6 separate regions of the Homo sapiens genome follow, and regions 1, 2, 3, 4 and 5 are each linked to region 6. The links are contacts of gene promoters, found by promoter capture Hi-C in blood cells and fetal thymus (Javierre and others, 2016). All regions are on one chromosome and are shown on one strand. Each heading gives the region's core, a stretch centred on a gene start or on the middle of the fragment in contact. The rest is flanking DNA. Distances are from core to core; before and after follow the strand shown. Region 1 overlaps NTSR1 (neurotensin receptor 1). Region 2 overlaps NTSR1 (neurotensin receptor 1). Region 3 overlaps NTSR1 (neurotensin receptor 1). Region 4 overlaps RBBP8NL (RBBP8 N-terminal like). Region 5 overlaps LOC105372716 (a long non-coding RNA gene). Region 6 holds the start of MIR1-1HG (MIR1-1 host gene).

Region 1 (4,356 bases), core at 749-3,248, 210 kb after region 6:
CGTGTCCACGCACCACAGACACACCCACGACACCTGATCTCGTATCACTAGCTTGCGGCCAGGTCATGATGTGGCCCCGGAAGCTGGCCCTGCGTGCCATGAGTGCGTCGGTCATGGAGTCCGGAGCCCCTGAGCCGGCCCCTGGTGACGGCACAGCCCTCACAGCTCAAACGCCCACCCCCACTCCCACCATCTGCAGGTGGTGAAAACAAACCCCGTGTATCTCTCAATAAAGGTGGCCGAAGGGCCTCGATGTGGACTTGAGTGTTGAGGGCCTGCATGTGCCCACCCACCCACTCATTCATTCACTCCTTCATTCAGACACGCACCGACGCAGCAGCCAGCCTGCACTGGGCCTCTTACCAAAGTCTACAGGGCTCTGGTCCCAGAAGCTGGCGGGTGGGGGGCGCCGGGATCCCTCTGCTCACAGCCCACCCACCCTCCCTAGTGCTTCAAGGAGCAGTGGGCCCCCTGCAGGGCCTAGTGACCACCGAGGGGCCTGTGTGGGCAAAAGTCCTCACCGTCTCCTGAGCTTCAGTCTCCTGATCTGTGAGCTGAACACAGAGGACGCTCAGTGAAGCGGGGAGCCCGGGGTCCCATGACCGCTCAGCTCAGATCTCCATGGCCCCCTCTAGCCAGCCCAGGGGTCCTGTGGTTGTGGGGGAGGGGGCCATGGCCCCATCGAGGCCTTAGCAGTGGACAGATAGGCCCGGGTGCAGTACTGAGCCTCTGGCCTGGGCCCAGCCCCGTGCAGGCTACTGAGGAGACAGAAGATGCAGCTGAACCCTCACCCCCAGGGCTTCTGCTCTGAAAATGAGGGTTCCCAGGCACCTCCCAGACCCACCGTTTCCAATTCTCCCCCGCCAAGGCCCGGGTCATTCTCCATCCCTGGTTGGGCGGCTCTGGCTCTCTGCTGTGCTCCTTTTTAGGGCACCAAAAGCTTTTCTCCGGCTTGCCTGAGCCTGAGCCACAAGAGGCCGGTGACAGCAGAGTCTGCAGGGTGGTGCCCTGGGGTCTTTCTCATAAGCCTCCTGGGCCTCAGGATTAGGAGTGCTGGGCTCACCCTGTGGAGCTCAGCAAAAGAAGCATTTGCTTGGGCTTGAACAGTCCAGGAAGGCTGCCTGGAGGAGGAGGCAGGTGGGCCAGTGGGAGGCAGAGCCTGAGCAAGGGAGAGTGCAGGAGTGAGGGGTCTCCCCAGGGACATGAGGGGCTCAGAGTGGCTGGAGAGGAGAAGGGCAGGTGCTAGGGGAGCAATAGGGGAGGGAGAAGGCGGGTTGAGAGCTTGAGGGATTTGAGCGCCCATGGAGGGGCTGAGTAGGGGCCTAGGGGGAGAGGGGAGGAGCCTTGGGGCCCTCGTGGTCAGGAGCCTGCCATGGTTCCTGGGTCCTGATGGCAGGGAGCACCCCTTCCTGAGGGGGTCCTCTTGGCCGTCCTCAGCAGCTCTGGCCCTGCCTCCACCTCCCTGCAGCACTTAGAGATTCTCTAAGTGTTGTTTTCCTGTGCCTGGGGGCTCAGGACTCCTTCCTTTGGGGGCAGCCAGGTGGCAGCAGGGCTGGGAGGGGTCTGGGTGAGGGTGGGGAGATAAACTATAACCCTGATCATCTAAAGGGATCTTGGCACACGCTGCCAGGCCCCTCCCTCCCAGCACCCAGCACTCACCTTCGCCTGCCCTCCCAAGCGGCGCTGCCCCAGATCCCCACCAGGCTCAGCCTGTCCTTATCTGTGCTAAAGCGTTAGTGGCCACAGCATCTCCTGGTAACAAAGATCCCCACACCTTAACCCAAAGGACAGCAGAAACACAGGACAACCCCACCCACCCTAAGGGCATGGTCCCCCACCTTCCCCTCCGAGCCGCACCTGCCCAGCTCAGAGGTGGGGATGGCTTGAGTGAGGACTCCTGGGCCCCTGATTCAGAAGAGGCTGCAGGGTCTCCGGGAAGACCCTCTCACCCAACAGCTGCTCTCTCTAGGAAGCCTTAAACCCCCGACAGAGGGAAGCCAGAGCCAGGAGGAGGCCGGATGGGGACGAGGAGAGCCTGCTGCCTCGGGGTCCCGCTTCCCCTCGGCTGTGCGTGGCCACAAGGTGGGCACAGGGAGAGGGCACCCACCATGTGGAGCCCTTGGGGGGCCTGTGTTGTGCACCCAGAGGCTGCGTGGCGAGCACTGGGTGAAGAGGGGATGCCAGCTCTTCCCCCGGCAGCACAGCACAGCCATGAGCGCACAGGTGGTGACGCACAGGGTCCTGGGCTGGACTCCAGCTCTGCCACTGTGAGCTGGGACGTGGGATAAGGTGGAAGTTAGCACTCAGGGCCCGGCCCGCAGGACCAAGGTTGGCCGCGTCAGGGGAGCTGGGAGGGAGGCGGAGGCTGCCTTCCTTGGCATCTGGCCTTGGCGGCCAGGCCAGTGTCCCTCCTGGCCCAGAGCGGTACCCGGGCCCTCGACTGCTGCCCTCCACGGGCTCCCTGCCTGAACCTGTCCACACCCCGATTCGTCCCCAGAGTTGGACACTCCGTGATGTTTAAGGTTAAGGAATTGGTGTCAATCATGAGCTTCATGCCTGGCTGCCCGGCTCCTTCTCTGCCCCGGCCTAGTCTGAGCCCCCTCCACCAACAGTGGAGCCTGGTGCCACCCGCTCCTGTCACTCTGGAGGTGGCCCAGGGTATAGCACTGCCTGCAACCAGGTCCCTGCTCTCCTCTCCACTCTAGAGCCTCTCTCCCCTTCAAGCCTCTCCCTGGTCTGAGGCTCCCTCCCCTCTGAGCCTCCCTCCGAGCCTCTCTTCCCTCTCCTCTCTTCTCCCTGCTCCTCCCTCTCCCTGCTTCCTCCCTGGAGCTGGGGGCTGTCTCTCTGACTGCATCTCTGGAGGAGGAGGAAGAGGATTGGGAGACAGGACTTTAAGCGCAGATTCTGCCAGGCATCACCTAGGAGCCCTGGCTGAACCCAGCTGTGTGTAGGGAGCCTCCGGCCGCCCTGGGGCTCAGCATCCTTAGGTCATTGTTCCCATTTGACTGGCCAAGGAAGCCAAGGCTCTGGTAATCTGCCAAGGACCCACAGCCTCCCTAAGCTTGAAGACCATGGTCCTATCAGCCCTCATGTGCTCCCGGTGACCCACCCTGCAGGCCCACAGGCCGAAGGCGAGCTCCACCTGTTTCACAGCTGGGGACGCCAGGGAGGGGGAGAGCTGCACGGAGCTGGTGTTGGTTCTGCCCTCGCCATTGTGGGACCTTCAGAAGACCCCACCTCCCAAGGACCGTGACCCCCTCCTGGGGAGGGCACGCCTCCCCAGGAGCTGCCAGGTGAGAAAAGCACCCAGCCTCCAGCACACCAAGACCCAGGAGCAGTGAGAGGGCAGAGCCAAGCTGCTGCCCCAGGGACTGGTAGGGACCACTGATGGCAGTGGCAGGAGGAAGCTCCAGGCTGCGGGGCTCAGAGAGGGATGAAGGACAGGGTACGGGTTGCTTTGCCCCCAAATCAGAGATGCTCACCCGGCAGGAGACCCTGCATGCCCAGGCTCTCCCACCTCAGCCTCAGACGCCGAGCTGTGTAGACACTGTCCAGGCTACACCCAGAGCCTCCTGGGGTCTGCTTCAGCCTCTGGGAACCATTTGGCTCCTCTCTTCCCCCTGGGGGGCATGGGGAAAGCATGCCAGGGAGGAACGCTGGTTGGGCAGCCAGGCAGAGGTGGATGTGGCGGGCTCTCACCCCAGGCAAGTTGACCAAAAGGGTGACCGCAGCAAGGTGGGCTCTGCAGGGGACCCCAGGACGCTGGTCAGGCTCAGGGGCAGGGCTGGGGCGCAGGTTGGGAGGGCAGAGGTGAAGGAGCAAACACAAGGCATGGGTGGTCTCGGATGACGGGCACCCTCCCCCACCCACCCATTCAGGTCCTCGCCCTCATTCCCCACGGCAAATTTTCACACGGGCTGTTAGCCAATAGCTATTTTTTAACTCTGGCTACATTTTTAAAGTAAAATTATTGGATTCAGACAACATAGTTCTCCTTAAAGTAAGAAAGTCTGTGCCTAAAGCCGGGAGGAATAAGTACCATTTGGTGGTGAGTTTCAGTATCACCCCAATAAATCATGGGGTGCCACATGGCATGGAGGCAAACCCAGATCAACAACCGAGAGAACAGTCACTGCCCCTCCTCCTGCCCGCCCTCCTCCTTCCACTCCGTGCTTCCCTCTGAGCCCCCCACTCTCCCTCCCAGAAGACCGCCTAGCCCCACAGCCCTTTCCTTTCTCTGGGGTCTTTGTTACATTGACCACCATCCCGACTGGCTTCCACTTGGTTTCTCCCGGCTTTTCGCACACCCACGGCTCTTCATGACTGAGACCCAGCAAGCGGGAGCAGCCTGAGGTC
Region 2 (4,033 bases), core at 220-2,719, 190 kb after region 6:
ACCCCACCTCTGGCATGGGGAGCAGAGACCCACCAGGGTTCCCATCCCTCTCCCCGCAGTGTTTCCCCAGTTCCAGGGCTGTGAGGTGGTCACAGTGGCTCTGGTGTGGCCGTGGGGTTCCTGTTCATCCCAGGGCACCTGTCACGGGACATACCCACAGCACAGGCAAGTGGAACGTTCTCTGAGTTTAGCTTTGTTTGTGTAGGTAGTTCACTGTGGGAGTCTAGCTTTTGGGGGACACACCTGAGACCCTCCCAGCTACCCTGCCCTCTCCCCAGATCAGCTCGGTAGGCTCCAATCCAGAGAGTCAGGCTGGGAGGGGAGCACGGAGCCGCCCCTGCTGGACACGTATCCCGGCCATCTCAGGCCCACCCATTGCCTCATTGCTCCCTGCCCCCGGTCCAGTCAGCTGAGTGCCCCGTGGTGTGGGTGCGTCATGCCATGGCGACCAGCCCCAAAGGGTGAGCCTTTGAGTTGTTCACCAATCATTGGGGTTTCGAACAAGCCTGTGCTGACGGCCCTGGCACACAGGGTTTCTGAATTAACTCTGCCATCGTTCCTGGCCTCAGCTGTGGTGGGGAAGGCAGTTCGGGGTCATGAGAACCCTGAGGGTTGCTCCCAAGTCAGTGTTTGCTGGGTCTAGTGGGGGCCTCTCCACCTGGAGTCTGTCTGGGAGGTTAGAAAAGACCGTCCGTGAGCCTGGGCCCTGCTGGGGCTGGTCATCTGCTCAGGGAGAGGGCGATCCCCTGCCAGCCCAGCAAGGCCACCCCAGCGGTCACCCCCTTGGGAGGGTGTGGACAGGAGCCTCCCCTCCCACCCGCCCCGCAGCCTCTGCAGCCATCTTACAAAGCCTCTGGGTTCTGCAAAGCAAAAGGGTTTTGCACCTTCCCACTCAGCACAGGCTGGCTGCGGAGCCGGGAAGCAGTGTGCCAGTCTGGGGCTGTCTCTTGATCTAAACACAATGGGATGAATTAGAGAGAAAGGCAGAATACAAAACAAGCAATTGCTCTCGAAGAGCGAGGTGAGAACGCCCTGCCTGAGGTCGAGGGGCTGAGGCCGGCTGTCTGGAGCCTGTGTCGGGGGCACCCTCCTGCTGTCTGGCTGTGCCCTCACCTGTGGGCAGGCATACCGTGTGCACCCCTCCCGCTCCCCACCTGGTCTCCACGGCCAAGCTCAGACCAACCACCCAGAGGCTGCGCCCCGGTCCAGATCCCCCTAACACACCTGCTGTTTCATTATCTAACCTTTCACTCCACCTCCGTCCTCCCCATCAAAATTACACATGCGAGGGGGCAGAGGCCAGGCTGTCCCTCCCATAGGTCCAGCCCCACCAGCCGTCGCCCCAGCGTGTCCCATCCCAGCCTCCCAAGCCGCAGTCCTGTGCCCCCCAATTTGCTTCCTTTCCCACACCCAAGGGAGCACAGTCAGTGCTCCAGGAACTGAGGCAGCACCTCTAGGCTCGCTCTTTTAGAAATGAGGCTGAGGGGCTGGACGCAGTGGCTCGTGTTTGTAATCCCAGCACTTTGGGAGGCCGAGGTGGGCGGGTCATGAGGTCAGGAGATCGAGACCATCCTGGCTAACATGGTGAAACCCTGTCTCTACTAAAAATACAAAAAAATTAGCCAGGCATGGCGGCGTGCACCTGTAGTCCCAGCTACTGGGGAGACTGAGGCAGGAGAATGGCGTGAACCCGGGAGGTGGAGCTTGCAATGAGCTGAGATCACACCACTGCACTCCAGCCTGGGTGACAGAACAAGACTCCGTCTCAAAAAAAAAAAAAAATACAAAATTAGCCAGGCATGGTGGCACATGCCTGTAATCCCAGCTACTCAGGAAGGCTGAGGCAGGAGAATCACTTGAACCTGGGAGACGGAGGTTGTGATAAGCAGAAATCGCGCCACTGCACTCCAGCCTGGGCAACAAGAGCAAAGCTCAGTCTCACAAAAAAAAAAGAGAGAAATGAGCCTGAGGCCCAGGAGGACCTGCCGAGCTCACAGCTGGCCAGGGAACAAGCCAGGCCCCCACTTCTGGCACCAAACCCCAGGCATTCGGCTGCTTCTGAGAGGCTTGAGGCCCTACCAACCACTCAAACGCCATTCCCAGACCCAGACAGGGCTAGGAGGCAAGGGGTAGCAGCTGAGGGGTGCACACAGCAGAGGATACTGCCAGAAGCACGAATGAGATTCCCATGGAGGCAGCCCCACCTCCAGACCACCACGGCTGTCACAGCAGACACCCCTGTCTCCCACCATGACCTTCTGCTCTGGAACATCCACCCCTAAAACCTCAGACCCAGCCACTGAGGCCCATGGCCCAGAGCCCAGCTACCCAGCCGGCTCCAGGGAGGGTGGCCCAGCCAGTTCCTGCCACCTGAGGATGTTGGTACACACACCAGACTCAGAGGGAGACCCAGACAGACAGCAACACAAAGACAGAGAGAGAGACACAGAGAGGAAAGCAGAGACACAGAGAGACATGGAGAGAGACACAGAGACAGAGAAACAGACACATAGAGGAAAACAGACACAGGGAGACACAGAGACAGAGATACAGAGACACAAGAAAACAGAGACAGAGATAGAGACAGAGACACAGAGATATAGAGATAGAGACACAGACTCAGGAAAACAGACAGAGAGAGACACAGGAGAACAGAGACACAGAGATACAGAGATAGAGACACAGGAACAACAGAGACACACAGACAGAGACAGACACAGGAAAACAGTGAAAGACAGAGACACAGAGGAAAACACACAGATATACAGAGAGAGACACAACAGAGACAGACACAGGAAGGAAAACATACAAGGAGACAGAGACACAGAAAAACACAGAGAAAAACACAGAGACATCACAGGAGAAAGATACAAAGACAGACAGAGACACATATTCTGCCTCGCCTCCAAATCCAGCTTGGCGTGGACCTCGCTGGGACTGGATGGCCTTCTCTACAGCTGCTGAACAGCCTCGCCGTCCCCAGGGCTTCCCTGCTGTTGGCCATGACCCTCCCCTGCTGCTTGGAATTGCAAAGCCAGGCGGTCTGGGAGTCCCAGCCACCACGCGTCCCCCAGAATATTCATGGGGCTGGGCCAGGTGACTCCCTGCTCTCTTTAGAGACAAATCGAAAGGCGCCAGGGTGCTGTGGCATCAGTGGCGCTGAGGCATCCTCTGGCCGGCCCTGCATGGCCTTCAAGCTGCTTGAGTCCATTGGACAAAGTCCCTCAAGGCCACCCTATGTGGCCAGGGCTGAGACGCCTAGAGAGGTAGACGCTCAGCCTGGGCAGGGACGGGGGCCACACTAGCAGAGGTCAGAGAAGGGGTCAGCCAGGGGGAAGGTCAAGGCTGCCGCCCGGCGGGTCACCACCAGGCCCCCACACTACCCCAGCCTGGCCGTCTGCTTCCTGTTCAGTTCTCACCCCCTGAGTTCTCAGGTCTGTGAGTTTGCTGGACCGTCTGCCAGGAGAGCTTAGGGTCCCTGTAGGCTTGTGGGTGCCATCAGGTCAGAGATGAGAAGTCACCTCCAAGCAGAGGCCTTCCCGGAACCCCCAGCACTACTGCAGCCAGGCTGCCGCCAGCATCGCTGTGTCTGTAGCTCTTATTGGCCCTGAAGTCACTGCAGGTGGTTCTTTCAGTGGTCTCTCCTCCCCAGGATCCAAGACCTCTGACGGCAGGGGCTCCTATGGCTTCTCCAAGGCAGTGATGTTTGTGGGAGGGAGGAAGGGAGAAAGGTGGAGGGAAGCTAGACTAACCAAGAAAAAAGAGAGAAGACATAGCTAAAATCAGATATGAAAGAGGAGACTTTACAAGATGCCACAGAAATCAAAAGGATCATAATAAACTGTGAACAATTTTATACAAACCAGCTGGACAGCCTGGAAAAAATGGATACATTCCTAGAAACTCACAAGCTTCCTAGAGTCAATCGCGAGAAATGGAAAATCTGAAAGGACCAATAACAAAGAAGGAGATTGAATCAGTTACCAAAAACCTCCCAAAAAAGAAAACCCCAGGGCAGGGCCAGGTTGCTTCG
Region 3 (4,282 bases), core at 1,018-3,517, 170 kb after region 6:
TGAGAGATTTTTTTCTTCATCGTGAATGAATGTTAAATTTTGTGCAGTGATTTTTCTGTCTCATCATGTGGCAAGATCATGTGGATTTTCTCCATTAGTCAGTTAATGTGGTGAATTATATTGATTACTTTCCAGTTGTGATAAAATGTACATCACGTAAAATTTACCACTTTAATCAATATAAGTGCACAGTTCTGTGGCACTAAGTACACTGTCACATGACCATCTCCACCCTCCCTCTCGGTACATCGTCATACGATCATCCCCACCCTCCCTCTCGGTACATCGTCATGCGACCATCTCCACCCTCCCTCTCCAGAGCTCTTTTCATCTTTCCAAACTGAAGCTCTGCGCCTGTTAAACACTAACTCCCCATCTCCTCCTCCCCCAGCCCCTGGCAACCGCCATTCTACTTTTTGTCTCTGTGAATTTGACCACTCCGGGGGCCAAATATAAGTGGAAAACCTTGGTTAATTCTTGAATGATGAACCAGCCTCACATTCCTGGGATAGACCTCATTTCGTCGTGTATTAGCTGGTTTTGACTTGCTAGTGTTTTGCTGAGAATTTTTGTGTCTATGCTCATGAGAAATATTGGTCTGTAAGTTTATTTTCCTGGGTTATCTTCATCTGGTTTTCTGGCCTCATAACATGAGCTGGGAGGTTCTTGTTCCTTTTGTGTTTTCTGTCAGAGGTTGTGTAGAATTGGCATGATTTCCTCTTTAAAGCTTTGGTAGATTGTCCAGCAAAACCATCCGGGCCTGGAGTTTTGTAGGAAGGTTTTTATAAATTCAATTCTTTTCAAAGAAACCAGGTGTAGTGGTTCAGGCCTGTAATCCCAGCACCGTGGGAGGCCAAGGAGGGTGGATCACCTGAGGTCAGGAGTTTGAGACCAGCCTGGCCAACAGGATGAAACCCTGTCTCTACTAAAAATACAAAACTTAGCCAGGTGTGGTGGTGGGCACCTGTAGTCCTGGCAACTCGGGAGGCTAAGGCAGGAGAATCGCTTTAACTCGGGAGGTGGAGGTTGCAATGAACCGAGATCACGCCACTGCACACCAGCCTAGGTGACAGAGCGAGACTCCATCTCACAAGACAAATTATTTTAAAAGATAAAGGAATATTCAGGTTATATATTTCTCCTTGAGTAAGTGTTAGTAATTTGTATCTTTTGAGGAATTGGTCCATATAATCTATTTTGTCAAATTTTAGAGCATAGATTTATTTGTGGTATTCTGTCATCATCCTTTTAATGTCTGTGGGGTCAGTAATAGTGTCTCCTTGTTCATTTCTAATATTGGTAATCTGTGACTTCTCTCTTTTCTCCTTGGGCAATATGGCTAGGATTTTATTAACATTATTGTTCTTTTTCAAGAATGAGCTTTTGATTTCATTGATTTTTTTTCTATTGTCTTTTAGCTTTCAATTTTATTTATTTATATTTCTTTCTTCATTTCCTTTTTCTGCTTGCTTTGGGTTTAATTTGCTCTTCTTTTCCTAGATTTCCTAAGGTGGGAGCTTGGATTATTGATTTAAGATCTTTATTCTTTTCTAACATAAACATGAAATGCTATAAACATCCTCCTAATTAATGCTTTAGTGGCATCTCAAAATTTTTGAACATTGTATTCTAATTTAGATCAAAATTTTTTTATATCTTGAGATTCCCTCTTTAACCTTTGTGTTATTTACAAATGTGTTGTTTAGTTTCCAAATGTTTGGGATTTTCCAGATATTACTTTTTTATCCATTTCTAATTTAACCCTATTATGTTTAGAGAACAAATGTGCATGATTTAAATTCCTAATTTTGTGAATGCTTGTTTCATGGTTTAGGATAATGGTCTATTCTGGTGAATGTCACATGCACACTTGAGCAGAATGTGCTGTGCTATCATTGCTGGGTATATTATTCTATGAAGGTCAATTTGTTGGATAGTGTTATAGTATTTAATTCTAGAATTTTTATTGGTTCTTTTAATATAGTTTCTTTTTGTCTTTTAAGAACTTTCATTTTTCCATTTATTTCAAGAGAGTTACCTTTACCTCAAGGAGCATGGTTGTAATGCCTGCTTTAAAGTCTTTGTCTGGTAAATCCATCCTCTGGGTCATCTTGAGGGTGGCATATATTGATTCTCTTTTCCTTGAGAGTTAGTCCCATTTCCATGGTTCTTTTTCTGTTAAGTAATTTTGAATTAATTCCTGAACATTTTGAATTTTGTTGTGGTTCTTTGGGTTATGTTAGAATCCTCTGGAGAGGCAGCCCGCTTGGTCAGAGCTGCCGCTTTTGTCTCACTGTCTGTCCGTGGTGGTTCCAATGCAGGCCTGTTTTTGGGTCTTTTGCTGTTCAGCCATTCCACATGAAAGTGCCATTCAGGGGCAGGCTTAGATCTTGGAGATCGTTTATATCACAGCGGTTTTCAAGCCCTTAACTATAATTGTTTAGGTGTGTTCCTCATATGTGGTAACTCCAGGACTTGTGTTGACTCATACACAGAACTGGGGGATCCCCTTGTTCAGCTCTCACCTCTCTGAGATTTCCTGTCACACTCTCTAGTTTCCAGGGATCCTTTCCTTAGGCCTCCAGCCAGGAAGCCCGAGTATTCCATGTTATGTCCTCTGCTGACTTCTTTAGATCCACTTCTCTGTATTTGCTCTTGGAATGGTTGCCCTGGAATATCAGTATGCCTCTGAGTGGACTCTGAGTGCTCAGAGTCTGATCAGATTCATATCATGCTGATTTACACCTGACACCTCCTGCTTCTCACTTCCACCTTGATGTCTGTTTCAATGGACTCATTTTTTTCTTGTCAATGGGTCACATTTTACTTTCTTTGCATATCTAGTAATTTTTAACCTATACTAGACCTTGTAGATGACACATTAAAGAGACTGGATTGTGTTGTGTTCCTTTGGAGAGGGTTGATTCTTATTTTAGCAGGCAGTTCAGTGGCAGACTCGTCATCTTGAACTTGGGTCGGCTTGGTTTCATGCTTAGTTGAGTAAACAACTACGGAAAGCCCAAGGCATTTTCCAATATCCCTTCTCACTTGGAAGAACTCAGTGGGCACCTTCAGCCTCCTCTGTGGATTCTGTCTTAGCTGGGGTGGGTTTGGAGGCCTTGCTCTAGGGCTTCTCCATCCTCCTGTGTCATGGGCTTCCTGGCATCTCTGTTGGCTGCTTCATGTGTTAATGAGACTTCTTCCCCCTAGCTCTGCCAGGATGCCAGCCACCCTCTGATAAGCCTTTCGTGGCCTTGTTCTGTACACGCTGGGCCAGCACAGATCCCACAGGAAAGCCGGTGTAGGCTTCTGAGGACCGTCACCATGCAGTCCCCCTCTCTAGCACCTGGCTCTGCAGATGTAGCCACAGCCACAGCCCGCATCTCTGATCTCTGCCTCCTTGGCTCAGATAGTAACGTTCTGCCCGGACCTCAGCTCTTACGTCTCCATCAGGAAACTGTCCCCAAACAGAGGCATGGTGATGATGGGCTCACCTTGTGAGTATCCATGCCCTTAGGGACCACAGTCCTGAGGTTTGTCCAGGGTCTGAAAACAACTGCCTGATACATCGTGTACAATTTTATAGTTGTTTATGGCAGGAGAGCTAGTCCAGTACCCCTGGCGAAAGTCATCCGTAGATTTTAAACACTGCCTACTTTCAAAAAGATCTGAGGCAGCTTATGATAAAAGGCTTGGGCTCAAAGGAATTATTAAAACAATGTTACAAAAGAACACAGAACAAAGAAATAGAGTTATCCAAGAAACATGAGTCTGAGGACAGCCACTGTGTTTGAGTAAATCTTACACTGAAGCTTATGAAAAAGAGCAACATTATTTGGACTTAAACATTTTTAGCCTGTTGTCTGTGAAAAGGTGAACTTACTGTAAATTTCAGTAACTCTCCTTTGACATATTTAAAGGTTAAGAGAATTATTTCAAGAGCCTTGTTTTCTTATAATTCAAACACGGTTCCTCTCCTTAAAAACTCACACTTCCAGGCTCTCAGCATTCAGAGAGTACGGGAGCTGTTTGGGAATCATTCCTGCTTGGGCATCACTCAATTGTAACTGCTCACAACAGCCGTGGGATGCTGCTGTCTGGGGTGTCACTTCCCAGTTGATTGGCAGAATCACGAAGCCCCCGGCTCCTGCGAGTCAGGGAGGGACCGCAAGTGTGTCTGGGCCGTGTCACTCCGGAGCTGCGAATAGAGCCGTCCGGAATGTGCTGGTCAGGAGCCAGGGCAAGGAACGCTCATTTGTCCACCTGTCGACTTCAGGCTGCG
Region 4 (4,515 bases), core at 1,258-3,757, 130 kb before region 6:
GGGTGTCTGAGCCCTGGGACCCTTTCCCACTCACCCCAGGCCCCGAAGCCGCTTCACCTCCTCCTTCAAGGTCTCGTTCTCTTCCTTCAGCCCGTTCATCTCGTTGGCTGCAAAAGGCACTGATGAGCAAAGCAGCCAGGGGTTGGGGGGGACAGGGGCAGGGGTGGGGTCGTCACAGCACCAGGGAAGCCCCTCAGCAGTGCCCCCAGCACGTAGCCCAGGGCCTGGCAGGCAGCAGGGGCGCCGTGGATGCTGGCTGCGTGCATGGCTGATTGGATGCTGTTGAATGAGCAGTGCCGGCCTCGAGGGAAGGGGGCTTGCCCTTGGTCATCAGGAGGGCCACTGGGGCCTCAGCACTGCAGGACCTTCCGCATCTCAGGAAGGAGGCCGCGCCCAGTGGGGGCCGGGATGCCCCCAGCCCAGGGGAGGGAGGCTGTGTTGAGGGAGGGCCACACCAGCGCCGGCTGGGGGCTTTGTGTGTTTGTCTGTAGATTGGGTTGTGAGGTTCCCCCAGTGGTGTGGGGCCGATCGTCCTGCCTCCTTTCCCCATGCCCCTACATGGGCTGAACAGGCCTGGGGTCGCCTGGCCCCGTGGGAGAGGACCCCGGTTGTCTGGTGGGTGGGGCTCACTGAGGATGAAGATGCGCTGCAGGTTCTGCAGGTGGGAGCTCTCGAACTCCTGCTGCCGCTTCCTGGCCAGCTCCTGGGTGACCATGCAGCGGTCGCACAGGCCGGCCCGCAGCCTGCAGGGATGGGGACGCAGGGGGTGTGAGGGATGGCACGGAAGCCACAGAGGGCCTGGGACACTCACTGCCCCACTGCTGGGAAGTGCCCCTGCCCTTTGCAAACTATTCCGTAGAGCCCCAGGCCTCTTCCCACCCCGTGGGCTAGGTGTCCCATGTTCCACTGAGTTTGGGGAGAAATCTTGAAAATGCAATTTCCTTAAGGCTCTGAGATGTCCTGCAGTGGGGAAACCTTCCTGGTTCAGTTTATCCTGGAGTTTCCCAAACTCATTCTCCGAGGAGCCCTGTCACCTCCTCCTCTCCTGAGCCCACCGGTCCTGGCCATGCTGCGAGGTGTCCTCCCAGGCCCACCTGTTCTCCAGCACCCGCAGGTTCTCCTTCAGTGTCTTCTGCTGTTCCCGGAGCTGGTGGTTCTTGGAGAAGAGCTCCTCGATCCTCTGGGCGTCCCTGTGGTGGGAAACAGCTAAAGTGGGGTCCTGTTCCATCCAGGAAGCCACACGCTGTCCCCACCATCCAGCCTGGGGGGGCAGCGCGATTCGGCACCTGCAGCCTTGGTCTGGGGGCAACGCCTAACCCGGTGCCCCCCTCCCAGTCATCTGCACGCTCCTCTGTGACGTCTGTCCCGTCCACGCAGCCCCCCCAGTCATCTGCACGCTCCTCTGTGACGTCTGTCCCGTCCACGCAACGCCCCCCCAGTCATCTGCACGCTCCTCTGTGACGTCTGTTCCGTCCACGCACCACCCCCCCCAGTCATCTGCACGCTCCTCTGTGACGTCTGTCCCGTCCACGCACCCCCCCCAGTCATCTGCACGCTCCTCTGTGATGTCTGTCCTGTCCACGCAACGCCCCCCCAGTCATCTGCACGCTCCTCTGTGACGTCTGTCCTGTCCACACACCACCCCCCCGGTCATCTGCACGCTCCTCTGTGACGTCTGTCCTGTCCACGCAACGCCCCCCCAGTCATCTGCACGCTCCTCTGTCACGTCTGTCCTGTCCACGCAACGCCCCCCCAGTCATCTGCACGCTCCTCTGTGACGTCTGTCCTGTCCACGCAACGCCCCCCCAGTCATCTGCACGCTCCTCTGTGACGTCTGTCCTGTCCACACACCGCCCCCCCTGTCATCTGCACGCTCCTCTGTGACGTCTGTCCTGTCCACGCACCACTTTAGTGCCACAGCACAGGCAGGACCATAGCCGGGTCTATAAGCCAGAACGCAGGGAGCCTGCCCGCCCGCCAGTGTCTGACCAGACATGACCCCAGCTCACCGTGAACGTATTGTTGATATTCTGATCATGATCCTGGGGTGGGAGAAGCCCCGAGTAGGGGGCTTGCCCCGCCCCTGGGAGGCCGACGCAACTGGGTTCAAGTGCTGGCTTCGCTGCCTGCTCACCGTGTGACCTTGGACAAGTGACTCCCCCCGCCCCCACACTGAGCCTCAGTTTCCCTTCTGCACCATAGGACGGTGGTAGTGCTGGCACACTGGGGCTTCAGGGGGATGAAGTGGCCAGTGTGGTCCCTGTGAGGAGGGGCCCTGCTTGGCCTGACTCACCGGCACCTCTCTGAGTTCAGTTCCAGAAGCTTGTTCTGCAGGCCTGGGGGAGCAAGCAGAGGGGCGGGGGGTCAGGCCCAGCTGCTGCTTCACCTTCAGTGTCCCCACCACGGGGTCTGGGCAGAGCTGCAATGTGGCACTCCTGTCCCCTGCACCCCCTGGGGGAGCCCTGCCAGGTGAGCCCCTGTCTGTGCCCAGGCACGGGGCTGCCTGAGGCTCGGTGGTCTCGGCCTAGCATCTGTTGCTTCCCCTGGGGTCTCTGCCTCCGGCATCTGTCTGGGGGTGTCTGGGGGTGAGCAGGGACCCTGGTGCCACAAGTGACCAGCCACCTGTGAAAGGTAGAGGGACCGAGGGGCCATTTTGTGTGTGTGTGTGTGTCATAGCTAGTGTTGAAATAAGATAAGCTTCTGGGGCGGACCCCACCAGACCCTCTCCTTGCCGTATCTTGGGGATCCAACCTGGGCCTGGCTAGCCCCAGCAGCCCCACCTCTCTGGGTTGCCTAGGAGGCAGCCGGGTCCTTGGACCTCCAGGTGGGTGTGGGTGCTCAGTGGAAAGACCACGGGGAGGTGCTGGCCCTGGGACTGGACTGGGGGTGGTGTGGGGGCTGCGGCCCTGTCCCTCGTGGGGGAAGTGGACAGGGGTGGGGCCTGGGGCGTGTCCTAGAAGGAAGAGAAGAGTTGCAGCTCAGTGCCTTGACATGTTCTGGATGGGTCCAGAGAGCCATAAGCTCCTGTTTCTGGAAGTGGCTGTCTCTGCCCTGGTGAGCTCAGCAGGCCGGCCAGGGTGGGTACTTCTTTCTGCCACGCTGGAGGCCGGCCCACGGGAGAACAAAGCATGGGCAGCATGGGGCCTGCGGGTGGCAGGTGGCCATGAGGTGTTGGTGGCAACCCTTGAAAGTGCCCCTCCCCCTCGGGGTCACACTCTGGGAGTGGCTCGAGGACATCCCCGCTTGAGGTCAGCACTCGGGCCCAGGCAGGGTGTCTGCCACGTTGTAGCTCTGGGCCTTGGGTCAGGACTCCCCTGCCTGGGCCAAAAAGACGGGGTCCATTCCCTGACTTGGTGGGAATTGGAGGTGATCATGGGTGCACAGTGGCCTGCTCCGACCCTTAGGTGAGGGCTGTGGAGACCCCTCCCTAGCCTGGCATCTGTCCCTGGCCCCTCACCCAGGACTTCCTTCTCGTGGATCTCCTTCAGCCTGTTCAGCGACTCCATGAAGCTCTCCATGGCTCCCTGTGGCCCTGGCCCGGGCCCCTCTGCGCTGGGGTTGTGGAGACGCCTGCAGCCTCTACTGCCCCTCTGTGTCCATCCTGAAGAGGAGGAAGAGGGGACAGGGATCCGCTCAGGAAGGGCTTGTGGGCTGTGGAGTCCAGGAGAGGATTGGGGCTCCTTGTGTCTGTATGGAGCAGACCCCATGCCATGCTGTAGGGGCTACTCATGGGAGGTGGCCTGGAGGCTCCCGAACCCCACGGGCAGGCACAGAGATAGTACATTGTGTGGCTTCCTCCCACACGTATGTGGCCGGGGGCCAGAGGGCAGGGTGCTGGCTGCCGTGCGGGAGGGGCTGGAGGGGCCAGGGAGCATCTGGGGTGAGTGCCGGCACCTCTGAGCCACCCCGTTCTCCCCAGGTATCCAGCCCATCAGTGCCTGGCCTGTCCCCACATAAGCCCTTCCCCTGGCACCTCAATGGAGGGACAGGGAAGCCTGGCAAGAGCTGGATGGTGCTGGTGGCACCTGCCCAGCTGTGAAGCTGGGAGTCAGACCTCACCAGTAAGAGCCCCACAGACCCTACCATGCCACTGTCCACACCCCGGCCCCAACACCACTGTCACAGCACCTCCTTCCCTCTCACCAGAGCCCTGTACTCAGTTCCCTCCTGGGATCTCTGTCCCCCTCCAATGCCGTGGCAGCTTCAATCCTGTCCCACAGGCACACACACACACACACACACACACACACACACACACACACACAGATAGCATGTGCACACAACACACATGCACATATATGCAAAAGACACACACAGAGCATGTACACACATAACACACATGCACAAAGACAGACACACCACACAGCATGTATACACACAACACACAGGCACACACCCAGAGTTACACACATACAACACATATGTACACAGACAGGGATGCCCACACACAACACACAGAGACACATAGACATGGGTATACGCAGACACATGCTGACAACAAAGCTGTGCAGACAT
Region 5 (4,599 bases), core at 818-3,317, 230 kb after region 6:
TCATCTCACTGCAGCACAGAGCTCTTTCCCCATGAGACTCAGCACCGCCTCCTGCCGAGAGAGGCAGCTTAGTGTCTGTGGGAAGCAGAATGCCAGCATCCCAATCCCTTCATGTGCTACCATGACGTGTGGCGGGGGAAGGAGACTTGGCAGCTGTGGTTAAGGTGAAGGTGGGGGACAATCCTGGATTCCCCAGTGAGCCCAGCGTATGAACCCTTAAAAGAGAGCGCATTGGCCAGCTTCTCCCTGGAGGCCGAGCCATAAGGCAGGAGGCGGAGGCAGAGAGAGTCGAGGTAAGGACATGACCTGGTTTTGCTCTGAAGATGGAGGATGGAGCCGTGAGCCAGAGAACGGAGCAGCCTCCAGAAGCTGGGAGCAGCCTTTGGCCAACAGCCAGCAAGGATGTGGGACCCAGGTCCTGCAACTGTAGGGCCTGGATTCTGACAACAGCTTGTCAGAGCAGGAAGCCAGTTCTTCCTGGAGCCTCCCAGCAAGAACCCTGCTGGCTGAAACCTCAATTTCAGCCTCATGAGACCTTGAACAGAAAAACCAGAAGAACCCGCGAGAACCTCTGACCTCCAGAGCATGAGATGAAAAATGGACGTTGGTTTACGCTGCTACATTTGTTATAATTTGTCCCAGCAGCAGTGGGAAACACACAGTATCCCCCTTGCCTGCTCTGCTGATAGAAAGGTACATTGTTTTCAACCTTCTGCTATGAAGAAAGCTTTGCATTAACTCTCCTTGCTCATATGCACATGGAGTGGAGGACAAATCTGCTGTCAAGCCCTGAATTGGGTTTTTGAGACACTGTCCGTCCAAACACCCACAGTGTGCCCCTGTGCAGAGGCTATGCGTACACAAGGCCCCACCATCCACAGGACGACAGAGGCTGGCTTGGCCAGCCCAAGACCATCCGGCCCCTCAGGAGCTGCCTGACTCCAGGAGCTCGTAGGCCATGCCCCGGCTCCCCCTGGGCAGGCTGCCTCCTGGGTCTGAGTGGGGAACAGGAAGGCCTCAGCCTCTCAGGTCAACAGAAAGTTTGTGCTCAGATGGGCTGAATGTTCCGGGTCCATTTCCTCCTCAAGCCCAGAAGGGTTTGCTTTGCAGGAACCTGTTCCAAGTGATTTCGAAGTACTCAAAGGCTCTTTGGTGGATGTGTCAGGATCCCAATTCCTGAAATAAGAAAGTTGTGTCAAAAATCACAAAAGACGCTGGGCGCGGTGGCTCACATTTGTAATCCCAGCACTTTGGGAGACCGAGGTGGGCAGATCACTTGAGTTTAGGAGTTCAAGACCAGCCTGGCCAGTATGGTGAAACCCTGTCTCTATTAAAAATACAACAATTAGCTCGGTGTGGTGGCAGGTGTCTGTAATCCCAGCTACTTGGGAGGCTGAGGCAGGAGAATCACTTGAACCCAGGAGGTGGAGGTTGCAGTGAGCCGAGATCATCGCGCCCCTGCACTCCAGCCTGGGCGACAGAGTGAGACTGCATCTCAAAAATAAATAAAATCAAAAGGAACTGGCCTGGCCCAACATCCTGGCCGCTGCGTCCTCCTCGCTGCAAAGTCAGATTCCTCGCTCCCGCTGTGGGGTTTCCTGGACCCCTGCCCACAGTCTGCTAAGTGCCTAACCTGGCCACTATTGGAGCCCCCGATCCCACAGAGGTGGCTGTTCAGAGAGAAGCGGTGGGCCCAGTGTTCCCCAGGCCACACTCCACAAGTAGGTGCAGGAAGAAGAGAGGTGACACTTGGGGCTGCTGGGGCTCAGCCCCTCCAGGGCCCTCAAGAGGGGTGTATAAGCCTCCCACCCAGGGGTGACGAGCTGGGTGCTCCCCACCAACACCCGCTGGCATCAGCAGCAGCTGATCCTAGGGCATCACCTGCCCGAAAGCCAAGGAAGCCCCTTGCAGAGGGCAGCGTATCTGGCAGTGGCCACTCGGGTGGGGCCGCCTTCCTCAAGCTCCCAACCCAGCAAGGACTCCCTTGCCTCAGGCTCTCCCCTGCCTCTCTCTCAGCCGCGTGAGCACGGCTCTGGGCACCGCACCTGCACCCAGCAGAACTGTGCTAACCGGGCCAGATCTCCAGGGGCCAACACAGCCTGGCCTCTAGGACGGGCCACGCTGCGAGGGAGGGAGGCAAGTGTGGGGAGGCCGGATTCCACCTGTTTGGTTTTTGATTAGGGAATGGCAGAAACCCAGGCCTCCCGGGGCAGGGATTCAGCTCTCCTAACGGAGGCAGCCTTGGTGGGGGATACTTTTCAGCAGGGACTCTTTTATCCCAGAGTGTTTTTGCTGTGTGCGCGATGACTGGCTCAGTTTTTGTAATAATCGTTTCCATCAGCATAGAGACAGCTGTTTATATTCTTCAACTTTGTATTATGAAAAACGTCAGACAGAAAAGTCGAGAGACTAGTATCGCATGCACCTGTGTGCACAGCATCCAGATTCAACAGTTACGAAGGGAAAATTCCACATTTTATTTTAAATTTACTAAAGACTGAAACACACCAAGTACCGCAGGAAGGATAACCTGGGTGGAGGAGGGATGGGGCTGGAGAGTCGGGGCACAAGGGTGAGGGGAATGGGGTGGGTGGGACAGAGGTGGGGGATGGAGGGTGGGGTAGCATGGGGTGGAGTGGGGGATGGAAGGTGGGATGGGGCTGGGTGGGACCGGGTGGGGAGATGGAGGGTGGGGTGAGGCAGAGGTGGGGGAATTGATGGGCGGGTGGAGGTGGGTGAGGGTAGGGTGGGATGGGTGAGACATGGGAGGGATGGAGCATGGGGTGAGGCAGAGGTGAGGGGATGAAGGGCGGGGTGGGCCAGGGGCAGCCCCCAGTGCCCACAGCTGGAGCAGGCGAGGGGCAGGAGGGAGCGGCTGCCTGCCCCTGCGCTGGGTGGGCCCTGGGGCGCCCCCTGGCCTGCTGCCAGGTCTCCTGAAGGAGGGGTTTGTTCCCGCCTCCCGAGCCCACAGTCTGGTCTGTGTGTGCCTGTGTCTGTTGACAACTCCATGAGTGAACTGTGATACGTCAAGGCTTGGGGGAAGTGTGGGAAATGCTTGTGATTTTCTTTCTCTGTAGAAGTGGAGCAGAGAGAAAGCAGCTCCCACAGCGTGAGCGCCTGATACAGAGGAGACCCGGGGCTTGGAGGCCTTAGGCATTCACTCCAAAGACCTGAGAATTAAGGGAACGCGGCGGGGCCTCTTGCCCAGACCTGGAAGAACAGCAAGTGCTGCGAGGGCCTCTGCACCCCCTGAGGACCCCTACGCCCCCCGAGGACCCCTGTGCCCTGTGAGGGCCCCTGCACCCCTGGGCCTGGGTGGAGACCCACACACAACCCCACTATTCCAGGGGAAGAGAAAGGGGCCCTGTGGGGCTTGTCAACCATCACAGACCCAGAGACTCTGGGCAGAAGCTTCTGCCTGTCACGCTCAGCCTGCGACGGCCCCACCAGGAGAGCGCAGCCGTGAGTCCCAGAGGAAGCGGCTTAAAAGGCCCCTTTCCACCAGCCGCCAAGCCCCTCCAGGCTTTGCTGAGGCCCTGAGGTAGCCAAGCAAAAACCAGCCTCACTTCCCAGGAGCTCAATCACCAGAAACTTCAGGGAAACAAAAACCCACCGGAAGACGTTTTCCCTAATTACCCAGACAAGTCAGACAAAGGCCATGTAGAGCCTTTCCCGGAGTTTCCCAGCAAGCACCGCAGCATCTGGGTTCTCACGTGGCCGTCAAGCCTGTGCACCTCCACACGGAGCTCGGGACCCACCCCCAGGGCTCCTGGAGTCAGCTCAGCCTCCGCCAGCAGGCAGGCCCCAGTGCCCACAGGCATTTCTGGGCTTGCAGGGCACAGAGCCTGATGCTTTGCTCCAGCTCCCAGCGAATAGGAGAGGAGCCCACGTGGCTGCAGCGTGGGCAGAGGCACAAGCCCCCCACCCTGCTGGGAGCCCAGGTGGCCCAGGAGTGCTCCTAGCCTGGTCAGCTGCCCACGCCTCTGGCTTGCACTGTCTGAGGCCCTGAGAGGGAAGCCTAGCCTCCAGCTGCTTAGCCCCAAGAGGAAGGTAGGGCTCACAGGCTGGATGGGGGGTCAGACGCAGCAAGGACAAGAGGCCACTTGACTGTAGCCAGCACCTGCCTGTGTCCCAAGGCTGCAGTGTGTCCAGGAGGGCCCAACAATACCCATCTGTCTTGCCTTGGCCGCCGCCACAGCCAGCCTGACCACCCAGACCTGAGAGATTTGCTCACCAGGACACTCAACACAGCAGGCCGCAGAGCTGCCCAAGAGCCTTAAATCTGCTCCCACCTTTTCATTCTTGATCTCGGTGTAGACGTGCTCTGGAAGATGATCCATTTGGGGCATCGACACTCCTTCCTCTCGCCACTGTTTTTCTTAGTTACTGCATTATTTTCAGATGGCCGGTGGATACTTCATACCTGTAAGCAATGCACTGGAGCTGTGCTTCTTGGCTGGTGACTTCTGACTACTCCCACGGAGGGAAAGCCTGGGTCCCCTCCCACCCGCATTCCCACCCTCATCTTTTCCTTATGTCCCCTTCACGTTGTTAAGATCTTGGACATTTGCCTTCGTTCAATCATACATTTGAGACCTC
Region 6 (4,009 bases), core at 1,250-3,749:
GTCGGGGCTTACTGCTTGCTCCTTCATTCATTCACGCCTTAAACCACCTGCAGACACCAAGGGGAAAGTCTCGGGGGCCTAGGCCCTTCTCCCCTCTCTTCCCCTTCTGCCCCCTCTACCCCGTCTCCCCCTTCTCTCCCCTCTCCCCTCCCTCCCGTCTCTCCTACCCACTGCGGTCTCCCTTTCAAATCATGGTGGAGTGGGCCACGGGCAGCACGGCCCTGGGCCGTCAGGGGCGAGGGCTATGGGCTCTGACTTTACTGCCCTGGCGAGGACAGCCGTGGACATGGTGGGGGCCAGAACACACCCAGCTCCGATCAGTGCTTGGTATGGGACCTTGGGAGAGTGAGGCACCCACCCTGAGCCCACGTTCCTTCTCCGTAAAGTGGGGACAGCAAAATGCTCTCCTCTTAGGGATGCCTTGAGTGCAGCATAGAGCCCCTGCAGAAGCTTCTGGAACACCAGGCAGCCTAAGTGCTGTGTGCCGGCTGTTACTGTGAGGCTGGTGCTATGGGTAAACGGGGGAACTGCTCTGTCTTCTGGCTCTGTCCTACGGCCTGGGGGCTGTCAGATCTGGCCACCCACACCAGCCCTTCTCCTGGAAGGAGATGGCCCTGTGCCCGTGCCCTGGTCCGTGGGTGTGGGGCTGCCGTGAGGAGGGTGATTTATGGCCACGTCTGCTGCATACCCTCTCTCTCACCACCACAAAGCACCCGCATCCTTTACAGAGCCGCCTGCCCAGGCCTGCAGACTGCTCCCCACCTCCCCCATTGTGGCTGTCTATGCCCCTGACCCCAGCTGCAGGCCTGGCCTGCCCCCCTCAACCCTGCCTGGAGACGGCAGGCAGGAGGAAGTGGGCTGCAGGGGAGGGGCCTTGCAGGGGGAGTTTGGACACCACACCTCACACCACGCTCTCCCGCTGCCAGTGGGAAGCCGAGTGGCTATTTAGTTTCCAGAAAAGTGCTCAGACCAGGTAGAAGCTTAAAACCTCCTGGCCTCCTTTATGGTGAGACATGGGGTCTTTAGCGGGGCGTACAGGGCTGGGAGAAGGGCCTGGCATCACTCAAGAAGCCTCTGCACTGGGCAGGTGCAGGGGGCGTCCCTCTGTCCCTCGCTGTCGCTGGCCGGAGGACACCAGAGTGGGTGTCGGCGTGTGTGGCGAGTGTGGCTGGGGCTCCGGCTTCTCCCCATGACTCTGCAGAGCCGGCCTTGGGATGTGGGGAAGGGGCCGTGAGCCCAGGAGGTGAACCTGGAGGAGAGCCCTGCCTCAGCTCCTGTGGGCCAGCCTGGGGGGTGTGCAGGCTCCTCAGGGGCTCCCCTGGGATTAGATGCAGCTGAGCCTGTTCTGAGCGGCATAGACTCCCCGGCCCTGTGTCCCTAACTGGCCAGAACCACAAGGGGATGCCTTCCTAAGTCCGGGAGGCACTGGGGACATTTATGAGGTGGCTTCTGAACAGGAGGACCTATGCTCTGGACAGGACTCACAAATACCAAAGCTCATTGTCCCCATCACACGGGCCTGTGCCTGCCACCAACGAGCGGGGTCCCCGGACCACTGTGGTCCACTGTCATTCCACGACCTGGTCCCCAGTCCTGTGGGGCCCCAGAGAGATGGGACGACCAGCCAGCGTCACACAGCCTGTGAGGACAGTCTGCCAGTTCAGGCCTCTGGTCTCTGCGTCCAGGCCCTGCAAGGACAGATCCCCGTCAGGCCCCGTCCCAGGCCCTCGTCTGTTACATAATTCGGGCGTGAAATCCCGGAAGGGGGAGCTCCTGAGCCCGTCCAGCACCCGGGATTGGGGTCTCCCCATCACACACCCTTGGTGGCAGGGCCTGGCTGGGGGCGGCAAGCAGGTTGACCTTGCCTCTGTCCAAGGCGACTGGCATTTGTCATGACTTGGGGTTGGCTTGAGAGTCTCCGGAAACCCAGGTGGCTCTGTCACCACCTGATCCTGGCCCCAATTCTAGGCAAAAGGGCAGAGCCGATGGGACTGTGGAGGGGGCCACCCACTCCTGGTGGCCTGGGTGGGCTCAGCCCACTGGAGGCTCAGAGCAGCGAAGGAGGCCGTACCATTCTGCCCGCCCCCCCCACCCCCGGCCCTGCAGCCTGGGAGATGCCCGGGTCTCCCCAGGGCACCCTAGGAGCCGGCTGGCATGGCATGGAGGCTGCTGCCCGGCTACTGAGGAGGCGCCTCTGTACTGGCTGGGCTAAAAATAGCGGGGGGATCTCGGGCAGGGACAGCCGGTGGGAGGCCTGTCAGGGAGGGGCCGGGAGGGGCAGGACAGCAGCCTGAGCCCGGGACCCGCCGTCAATGGCGTGGGTGCTCCCACCCTGTTCCCGGTGGCCGGGCCAGCCGCGGCCCAGCTGACAGGCTATTTTTTCCCCTGCTTGACTAAATATGGTCAGGGAGCGCAGCCCGAGGGGGCCACTTGGCCAGGGCCGCGTGTTTGGGATGCTTGGCCGGGTATATAAGAACTGCAAAGGTGAGGCCGGCTCCTGACCCGAGGGGGGCCCCCACGCCCGCTCTGGCCTCTCAGGTCAGGCCCTCCCCTCCCCTCCCCTCCCCTCCCCCGCCCCTGTGTCTCCGCGAGCCGGCTGTGTGCCTGCGAGAGCGTGCACACCCGCGGGACCTTCCCTTTTGTTCCACCCTGACCTCTACCTTCTCTACCTTGTGCTGACCCCGCTGGGGTGCAGGGGTTCCCTTCGGAGGAGGCCGGGGCTCAAGGTGTGCAGCTCGGCCGCCTCTCCCTAACTCTGCACCAGCGCCTTCTCTCTCTCTCTCTCTCTCTCTCTCTCTCTCTCTCTCTCTCAAGATCTCCCTCCTGCTAAGTCTGCGCTGCTGCAGGAGGGCTGGGGGAAGGGCAGGGGTGTGGAGAGGGGGTGCCTGGTGTCTTCTTTCTCTCTCTGCCCCCACCAAGTGCGGACGCATCGAGCTTCGGCCCCCACCCCTGCATTCGCGATTGGCTCCCGGAGGAGGTGGCTGGTGCTGCCGCCGCTGCAGCATCTCCTAGGGAGCCGCGACCCTGCGCCCGCCGCCGCTGCCGCTGTCACCAGCCCGGCCCCAGGGGTGCCCTGGGCTCCGCGGTGAGTCCTGCTCAGCCCATCACCACCGCTGGGCCGCCGGGACGGCCCCTGCAAACTTGCCGGGCACCGCGGTGGGGGGTGTGCCTGCCAGCGAGGTGGGTGCTGCGGGTGCCGGCGCCGTGCGGCTCCGGCGGGGGTGCCGTGGAGTTTTCTCTTGGCTCGCGGCATCATCCACATTTGGAAAACTGCAGAGCCAGCAGCCGGCAGGGCCTGGAGGGCGCGTCCAGCTGGGAGGCAGGAACTTTGACTTGCGGGCATTTTGCAAGAAAGCAGCGGCCCCCCACGCGGGCAGTGGATGGCATGGGGGCTTCGGGGCTGGGCTGGGGGCGCGATTCACCTGCCGCTCCGCAACAAAGCCCCGGCAGCCGGGCGTGGGGCTAAACTTACCTTGAACTTGCAGTATCCCCCACTGAGGTGCTGGTGGGGGGCAGGGATTCCCGAGCTGAGCGGCGGCGAGGCTGCCCCCGGCCGGGACTCGGCACTTCTGCAGCTCTCCCAGCCACGTCAGGGTCAGGAGGCGTTTACAGGGGCAGGGCGGCGAGGTGGGGGGCGGGGGGCACATGTGGGCGGAGACTAGGGGGGCTTCGGGGAGAGCAGCCCTGGTGGTCGGCGTCTGTGCAGGTCCCTGCTGGGGAGCTTGACTTCCCGCGTGGCCTCCCGCGGCGCTGATGCCGGGGGCCGGGCGGTATTCACCGCTGAAGAGCCCCGGAGGAGGCCCCGGGCACAGGAGCCAGCTCGGCTCACGGTGGGGTCTGCTTGGAGGCGGCTGGGTGCTCTTTTTCTATGCAGACGGGAAACTTTTTGAAAAGTGACTACAATTCATTTGTGAGTGGGCAGAAGTCCTGTGGACTCTGGCTGGGTCTGGGGTGACTCTCCTGCCCTTTGGGACTCCCAGCTTTCCCCTTGACCCCCAGACCCCGTCCA

What was found. Contacts are between HindIII fragments. The CHiCAGO score rates a contact against its expected background, and 5 or more counts as called.
Region 1: a contact is called between a fragment that was not itself captured here and the fragment with the promoter of MIR1-1HG in region 6, in 4 of 17 cell types (M0 macrophages, M1 macrophages, total B cells and 1 more). The highest score is 8.5, in M0 macrophages.
Region 2: a contact is called between a fragment that was not itself captured here and the fragment with the promoter of MIR1-1HG in region 6, in 1 of 17 cell types (naive B cells). The highest score is 5.5, in naive B cells.
Region 3: a contact is called between a fragment that was not itself captured here and the fragment with the promoter of MIR1-1HG in region 6, in 4 of 17 cell types (M1 macrophages, neutrophils, total B cells and 1 more). The highest score is 5.7, in M1 macrophages.
Region 4: a contact is called between a fragment that was not itself captured here and the fragment with the promoter of MIR1-1HG in region 6, in 1 of 17 cell types (M1 macrophages). The highest score is 7.0, in M1 macrophages.
Region 5: a contact is called between a fragment that was not itself captured here and the fragment with the promoter of MIR1-1HG in region 6, in 3 of 17 cell types (M0 macrophages, M1 macrophages and monocytes). The highest score is 8.7, in M0 macrophages.

What each region holds. Positions count from the first base shown.
Region 1 is chr20:62,762,513-62,766,868 of GRCh38, forward strand. It overlaps NTSR1 (neurotensin receptor 1), which reads left to right. Exons shown (of 4, transcript NM_002531.3): 4 at 1-259. Among named protein-coding and RNA genes, the nearest start is that of LINC00659, 12 kb to the right of the region's middle. The HindIII fragment of the contact is 2,121 bases long and covers 939-3,059 here.
Region 2 is chr20:62,742,788-62,746,820 of GRCh38, forward strand. The region is part of intron 1 of NTSR1 (neurotensin receptor 1); the gene reads left to right. Among named protein-coding and RNA genes, the nearest start is that of NTSR1-AS1, 9.4 kb to the left of the region's middle. The HindIII fragment of the contact is 4,880 bases long and covers 1-3,909 here.
Region 3 is chr20:62,719,211-62,723,492 of GRCh38, forward strand. All of the region lies in intron 1 of NTSR1 (neurotensin receptor 1), which reads left to right. Among named protein-coding and RNA genes, the nearest start is that of NTSR1, 13 kb to the left of the region's middle. RefSeq lists a silencer at 2,164-2,356 and an enhancer at 4,184-4,282. The HindIII fragment of the contact is 3,085 bases long and covers 726-3,810 here.
Region 4 is chr20:62,416,130-62,420,644 of GRCh38, forward strand. RBBP8NL (RBBP8 N-terminal like) reads right to left here. Exons shown (of 14, transcript NM_080833.3): 2 at 3,458-3,601; 3 at 2,294-2,336; 4 at 1,095-1,190; 5 at 631-743; 6 at 35-107. The coding sequence starts at 3,518. Among named protein-coding and RNA genes, the nearest start is that of RBBP8NL, 9.2 kb to the right of the region's middle. The HindIII fragment of the contact is 375 bases long and covers 2,321-2,695 here.
Region 5 is chr20:62,782,654-62,787,252 of GRCh38, forward strand. LOC105372716 (a long non-coding RNA gene) reads right to left here. Exons shown (of 4, transcript XR_936986.3): 3 at 4,235-4,423; 4 at 565-1,176. Among named protein-coding and RNA genes, the nearest start is that of LINC00659, 8.1 kb to the left of the region's middle. The HindIII fragment of the contact is 2,684 bases long and covers 726-3,409 here.
Region 6 is chr20:62,547,954-62,551,962 of GRCh38, forward strand. MIR1-1HG (MIR1-1 host gene) reads left to right here and starts at 2,500. Exons shown (of 4, transcript NR_171007.1): 1 at 2,500-3,085. It overlaps CRMA (cardiomyocyte maturation associated lncRNA), which reads right to left and starts at 3,608. Exons shown (of 7, transcript NR_033263.1): 1 at 3,473-3,608; 2 at 359-508; 3 at 1-47. RefSeq lists an enhancer at 2,587-3,462. The HindIII fragment of the contact is 7,236 bases long and covers 979-4,009 here.